2 separate regions of the Homo sapiens genome follow, and region 1 is linked to region 2. Evidence: promoter capture Hi-C in human tissues and cell types (Jung and others, 2019). All regions are on one chromosome and are shown on one strand. Each heading gives the region's core, a stretch centred on a gene start or on the middle of the fragment in contact. The rest is flanking DNA. Distances are from core to core; before and after follow the strand shown. Region 1 overlaps SLIT3 (slit guidance ligand 3). Region 2 holds the start of SPDL1 (spindle apparatus coiled-coil protein 1).

The links. The method cuts DNA at HindIII sites, captures the fragments that hold promoters and counts their contacts. A contact is called where the count stands out against the background at its distance.
Region 1: a fragment that was not itself captured here is called in contact with the fragment with the promoter of SPDL1 in region 2 in 4 of the 25 tissues and cell types used here (aorta, mesenchymal stem cells, mesendoderm cells and 1 more).

Annotation. Positions count from the first base shown.
Region 1 is chr5:169,042,019-169,045,816 of GRCh38, forward strand. The region is part of intron 4 of SLIT3 (slit guidance ligand 3); the gene reads right to left. Among named protein-coding and RNA genes, the nearest start is that of SLIT3-AS1, 31 kb to the left of the region's middle. The HindIII fragment of the contact is 7,762 bases long and covers 1-3,798 here.
Region 2 is chr5:169,581,604-169,585,128 of GRCh38, forward strand. SPDL1 (spindle apparatus coiled-coil protein 1) reads left to right here and starts at 2,170. Exons shown (of 12, transcript NM_017785.5): 1 at 2,170-2,286. LOC105377714 (a long non-coding RNA gene) reads right to left here and starts at 2,058. Exons shown (of 3, transcript XR_941200.3): 1 at 1,780-2,058. RefSeq lists an enhancer at 1,797-2,797. The HindIII fragment of the contact is 9,913 bases long and covers 1-3,525 here.

The DNA.
Region 1 (3,798 bases), core at 1,263-3,762, 540 kb before region 2:
ATACTTCTCCCACCTGTCTTCTTGGTTTGATGATTGCATGTATAGTGCTGTACACAGGGCATAGGCAAGGAAAATGGAAGATGAAGAATGGATATCGTAGAACGGTCCAGTTCATAAGGGCCTACTGGAGAATTCTCAGACTCTCCAGAATCACACTTCCAGACAGTGACAAACAGAGCCCCTCAATACCTTCATACAGAAACACTTTAATCACCCTACACATTAGAAAAAAGTCCTGAGAAACCAGAAGAGGCTGGAAAGGTAGCCTGGAGTTCCAAGATCTCATGAAAAATTAATTCAACCCTCAAAGTCAGCACCAGTAAGGACTGTTCTATATAACAAAAAGTCCTCAGTTGCATTATTTAAAAACTGCTTTGGACTGACCAACTAATTTCAAAGGCTTCACTCTTTGCATTAGATGTTATCAAAGACGGATGTGCTAAAAGGGTTCTTTCTATCAAATCCGGTGCCCCTCTGCTCTCCTAGGGTTATAATTGAGATCCTTATTACAGCGAGAGCACTTTTGCTTTCATTTTAACCTAAATGTTTTTGTGAGATTTCCCTTCAAAGCCTGATGAAGAATGAGATTAGTGAAATCAGCCCTGTTCTCCCAGGAGCCACTAGCTCCTTTGACTCAGAGACCTTGGAGCTCCCTTATATATTACAGTCACATCAAAGGGGCATTTTGTTGTTTGTTTGTTACACCAACATTGCCAACCCGAGAATCAAACTGTTTTTTAAGTAGAGGTAAGAGATGAGGGTGCTGGGCTTGGGATTCTGAACAGGTGTGTTCCATTTTAAGAAATCCTGTTATTCAAAAATGAGCTATAAAAACAAGAAAAACTGGAAACGATCTGTCCATTTACAAAAGAGGGCTTACTATCGGCTTCCTTAAAAATCAGCTCCCTAATCTAGTTAATGTTTCATTATCCATAAAACAAAAGGGTGTTTACTGGCAACATTTTTGAAATACATCCATTATTTATAGAATGAGACATCTTTTGTACTACTACTAATGGCTTCCTTTATTGAATGCCTCCTATTTATGTGACTGTCTCTGTACTGACACTTTATATAAGTAATCTCATTTACTTCTCAAAACAGCCCTGTAACCTACATATCAGAATCTCATTTTATACTAGAGAAAAAAAATGACTTGCCCGAGGTCATACAGCCAGCGCAGACCTGGAATTCAAAGCCAAAGTCAGTTTTGCTTTGCACTTCATTTAGGTCTTGTTAGTAATTAGATTCAATGGTCATACTCCAAAGCCTCATTAATTTGGGCTGGTTGAGACACATTATAGTTTAAATTTGCTAGAAAAGTTTGAATTACAACATATCCACAGATTACCCACAAGTACACATAATGAGTTGGTAGTTTCACTGTTTGATGCAGATCCTTCAGGACTTCCTTCAATGATAAGAATAATTATAAGTCTTAACCCCACTGTATAAAGGCAATAGAAACACCCAACTAAAATGCATGAAAATACTTTGTTCCCTTAAGTTGGTTAAGTATAACTTGATAACTTGCCTATCAAACTCTCTTTTGAAAACACTTTATATGAGCTATGTTCAAGGGATCACGAATTTTTGAGTAGCAGGCCTTGATGTGATTATGCTCTGATTTTAATTTCTTTCAAACAAGAGCTCTTTGTATATTTCATTAACCCCTTGGCTTAGCAATAAAGAGAAGCAAGAGACTGTGAGAGAAAGCAATGAGTTTCTCCATTCCCCACTCCAGTTGTCTGGGCAAGAAGAGTGGCTGATTTAAGAGGGAACAGCTATCTCTGCCTTACCAAAGGTAGGCCTTATAATTAGCAAACAGCAGTGAGAGTCATCCGAACTGGGAGCTCAAGATTGGGATGATGCAGACTCTGGTCAAGTCAACAGTAAGAATGACATAACTACGACAGAACATGTTAAAAACTGTTCATATCTTCCTTTCCATTTAGGAAATACTCTGGATCCCAGATCAGAGAAACTTATTCTGATAGGAGACTACCCTGAGTAGAGAGAAGTAGTAGATAAAGGCTAAAGTGGCCAAATCAATGCACAGAAGCAAGGGCACCACCTCACACCCACCAGGATGTCTATGCTAAAAATGAAAAGGACAATAACAAGTGTTGGCAAGGATGTGGACCAACTGAAACATGCATACATTGCTGGTATGAATATAAATGGCGTGGCCATTGTGGAAAACAGTTTGGCAGTTCCTCAGAAAGTTAAATATAGAATTACCATGTGACCCAGTAATCCTGCTCCTATGTATATACCTAATACAACTGAAAACATACATGCACACAGAAACTTGCATATCATTGTTCACAGCAGCATTATTCATGATAGCCAAAAGGTGGAACATGCAATGGAATATTATTCAGCCATAAAAAGAAATGAAGTATCGATACATGCTGCATTACAGATGAATCTTGAAAACATGCTAAATGATAGAAGTCAGACATAAAAGGCCACATACTGCAGGATTCCATTTTTATGAAATACCCAGAATAGGCAAATCCATAGAGACAAAAAGTAGATTAGTATTTGCTGGGGGCTGGAGGAAGGTGGGGGGGGGGATGGGGAGAAATTGTTAATGGGTACCAGATTTCTCTTTGGGGTGATGGGATGCTCTGGAATTAGACAGTGGTGATGGTCACACAACATAGTGCATAGACTAAAAAGCACTGAATGATATAATTTAAGATGGTGAATCTTATGTTAAACTATATCTCAAGAAAAAAAGAAGGAAAAAAGAAAGGGCCAGGGTTGCTAGAAAGAGAATGTCTCTAAACAGTGGGGCTTCCCCTTTTTAATTCAACTGGCCTGTAGACCCCAGCTCTGTTTCTGGGCCTGGAGAAGGATAGTGCTTATTGCTGCATTTTTTGATCATCAACAACAGTGTAAGCTTCCTTAGCTTCCCACTGCTCATACTTCTCTCTCTGAAGAAGCAGCCTTCTGTCCATCACGGGATGAGAAGAACTCCTCCATGGTTCACAGGTTTCTGCGAGATGAAGCAGCACCAGAGATGCGGGGTCATGCTAAGGTTTCATAGAAGAACTTCAAGTATTCAGCAGCAGTGGGGGATTGCACAGCTTAAAGGTTTTCAGACCACTTGTGACAGCAACAGAAGACGACAATGCATTCCTGTTGTGCCCTGCTATGTGAAGCAGACCTTAATTTGAGACAGGGATGGGGGTTGGGAGGGGTGACTCCTGTAGGCTGGAGCTGCTGGTGAGATGAAAACCCTAAACGTGCAACTTGGGCACAGCTTCACTTGCTACTTCCTCACTGCCCGGGCTTTCCCTCACACCTAGGAAAATCCTCTGAGTTGCTGCTTCAACAGACAGCAAAAAAGAACTTCTACTATTGTTACTTCAAAGACTTCTTCCAAGTGTAGTCCATGCAGGAAAAAAAAAAAAAAAAAGAACTGAGATGATGTAGTTTATTTCCTGGAAATATTAGTATTTCAAGACCTGGGTGCACCATCCACACTTTCCAGGGCATTGCCTGACACACGGTAGGTATTCAATAGATGATTTTTACTGAAAGAAGGAGTGAATGAATATGTGTATATGAGTATTTACTATGTGATAGGTGCTGTACTAAGTTTTTACATCATTATCACATTTTAAATGCACAGAGGTGTACAGTGACTTGCCCAAAGTCAAACAGCTTGTAAACTGCAGACCCAGGAGCCAAACCACAGCAAGCTCTTCCATCCTACAGGAAGCATTCTCTGCCTAATTAAGAAGAGTTTGTGGCCTACACTTCATGTTCCCATAGCACCTGGTGAGT
Region 2 (3,525 bases), core at 920-3,419:
CCCATCTCTCCTTACGTAAATGGAAAATAACAGATACAAGGTTGCTGTTTTTTGCTTTTTCCTGACCTTTGGTATTTAGGCCATGGTATGCGGACCTTGCCTGAGTACGGAGATCTGCATCTGGTATTGTGAATCAGAAGTTCCATTAAGTTATCTTAAAAGTAGAACCCATCTAGAATTCATTTCACTTGTGACATCTAGCGTCCAGTGGTGGTATTGGCAGTCCTGTATTCAGGCCATCCCTAAAGAATGACCTTTATTATGACATGGGGTAACCTCTAAGACTTTCCTAATGCTGTCCCCTCCCCTAGAATGCACCCCTCCTTAGCTCTGCCATCCTTCAAGGCCCTGCTTGAAGTGTCACATGCACTGGGAAGTTTTAAAGGAACATTTAGACAAAATATACCTCTCCCTTCACACAACTCCTTTAGTGTGGGGCACATACCACTTGCATAGCATTTACAGCCCTGTAAGTTCTATTTGTTTTTTAAAATCTCCTACTATATTGCGAGCATCTTCTAGGCAATAGTCGAGTTTACCACATCTCTGAATTCCTCCACTATGCCTAACACATTGCAGTCACTCAATTAATAGTTTAAAATACATATTTTTAAAATAGAATAGGAAGAAACATTAATAACATAGGGTATACCTTCTCTTGTAACAAAGGAGAAAAAATAAGTTCAGATCGATTTTAGATTACCTAATTGCAGCCAGTCATGATTGGCCTAAGCTAGAACAATCTTTTCCTGGCCCCTGAGTTAAGGAATCTTTGTTCAGTGATAGGGAAAATGGTATTTGTTTCATTTCTCCAAGAACATAGGTGTGATTACAAATGAATGAGCATCTGGTTCATTGGAGTCCCAGATAAATCTGTGAGACAACACTGTGAGCAATTTGTTGCCAATCTTAAAGCTCAGATCAACCCTTTGAGTCTGGCTTAGCTCAGGCAGAAATTGTAGTCTGCAAAAGAAACTGAGAAGAAGAGGGCAAGGAGAGTGTGGCATCCCAAGACATAAAGACTCAAATCAATGAGAGCAAGCAACTCTGTCAAATTTCACCAGAAGTGAGGACTAAATATTGACTACCGAATTTTGCAAGGTAGGAATCACTGGTAAACCTAACAAGAGCCACTTCATAGTATTGGTTGGGACCAAATCCTGGTTAAAGTGGGAAAAACAAACAAAAGAACAAAAGGTAAGAAAATGGAGATAATGGATGTAAAGATTTTTTTTCCCCAGAAATTTTGTTATAAAGAGAAGAAAACAAATGGGGTGGTTGCCGATTGGTGTCAAGGAGGATTTTTTAAAAAATGAAATCATGAAATGATTTTATGGCAATCACTGCAGCATGTTTATGAACTGATAGGGAAGATCCAATAGAGAAGAAAAAACTGAAGATGCAAAAAAGAGCAGTTAGAGCCAAGTTCTCAAATAGGCAAGAAAAGATGGGCTCGAAAGAACGACATGATTCATGTAACAGTTACTAGGACTCATCAGTGCTCATTAAATGTTATCTATTATTATTTCTGATCGCTTCAATTTTTGAATAGGCATCAGGGTTACAAAATATTATTATTAAAAACACATGCAAACAGCTTGGACTCTAAGACTGCATTCAATTCTAGTTCTACCACTTGGACAAGGCACTTTTTTTCTTCGGGCTTTTTCTCTGTAGAAAACGAGGAGTAATATCTGCCTCATAAGGCTGCGGGCTTAACTGAGATAATCTGTAAACTTTAACACATGGTGGGAACTTAAATATTAACGCCAGTATTACCACTGGTAGGGTGCATGAGATCGCACGATGGTGCCAAAGGTGTCTCTCCACCGCCCAGCCCAGCGACACTGTTCCCCTAGAAGGCATTGTCGTAAAAACAAAAAAAAAAAAAAAACGAACAAACAAAACACCAAAACACGGAAACTAAAAGCAAATACTTAAAAGACATGCAGGAAACCAGCCCAAGGAAAAATTTATGTGGAGCCACGTCTGCGCCTGCGCCTGCGCCAAGCCCACGGCGCGCCACTTGCACATGCGCAGTAGCTGTAGGAGGGGGTGGGCGCTCCATTGGGCGTTTCTCTTGGTTTTTCCTTTCCGCGCGGCTTGGGCGGACGTCTCGTGAGACGTGGGACTTCTCGCGGGAACTGCATTCAAATATCCCAGGCGCTTACTCGAGAGCTAGCTGAGCGAATGGGCCGGCGACTGTGGAGTTAGCGTCCTCAATGTGGACGCCCTGAGCTCCCATTAGGAGCCGCTGGCTGCGGCAGCAGGGGACTAGCGTGAGAGGTAGGGGCAAGGGGCCTGGTGGGAGGTGGGTGTGGAGAGCGGCAGTGGGGAGAGTCGAACAGGCCCTAAAGAAAGCTAGGGGCCGGGGTCTCGGCCGAGGCCTTTAGCTGAAACATCTCCTTCCCCGGAACCCTGGGGTCTTATACACTGGGTTCCGAGCCGGTCTTATCTTCCGCTGGACCACCTCGCCGCCCTCAGGGATTCTGGACAAATATGGAACGTTGGGTCGGTTGCCGGGTCCTCAAAATTATAACCGCCACTGGATCTGCGCTGTGCGGTACGGTAGCCTCTAGCCCGAACTAAGAAATGGTGCAGATGGGAGATACATATTGGGTTTCAGAGATAGCGCATAAGGAGTAATATCTCATTAATAATTTTTATAATGATTACATGTTGAAATGATGTTTTGAGTGTATTTGTTTAAATATGTAAATTAATTTTTCATCTTTGTTTACTTTTTAAATCATGATGGCTCCTAGAACATTTAAAATCACGTACATGACTCGCGTTATATTTCTGCTGGACAGCACTGCCCCAGCCGTGTGTCAGATTCTACCCTAATTGCTTTTCATTCGTTATCTCATTTAATCCTTTCAGTAACCGATTAGGTGGGTGTTATTGTGCTTGTTTTTATAGATGATTAAACCAGAAATTAAATAACTTGTCCAAGTTCATGCAGCCAGTGAGTAGTGGAGGCGGGGTAAGAACTCAGGCAGTTTGATTCCCAGAGTTTCCTGTGTCCCAAATGCTTTGTGTGTGCTATATTTTTGAGAAGCAGGACAGGAAAAATGGTTGCAGCACCATGGTTTCTAGGTAGATTCTAGTTCCCATCACACTTCGCGTCTTAACTTGCGGGTAACCCTAAGCAAGTTACTTAAAACTTTCTATGCCTCAGCTTGCATGTGTAAAATGAGGGAAATACCTTCAACCTCTTGAAGTTGTTGAGAAGATTGAATAAGAATGTGTATAAAGCGGCCGGGTGCGGTGGCTCACGCCTGTAATCCCAGCTACTCGGGAGGCTGAGGCAGGAGAATGGCGTGAACCCGGGAAGCGGAGCTTGCAGTGAGCCGAGATTGCGCCACTGCAGTCCGCAGTCTGGCCTGGGCGACAGAGCGAGACTCCGTCTCAAAAAAAAAAAAAAGAATGTGTATAAAGCACCAAGCACAATGTCTGTCACACATTAGTAGTTTTTAATCAACCACGGCTATCTCTCTTTGTAGATTGATAGGTTAACTCTTT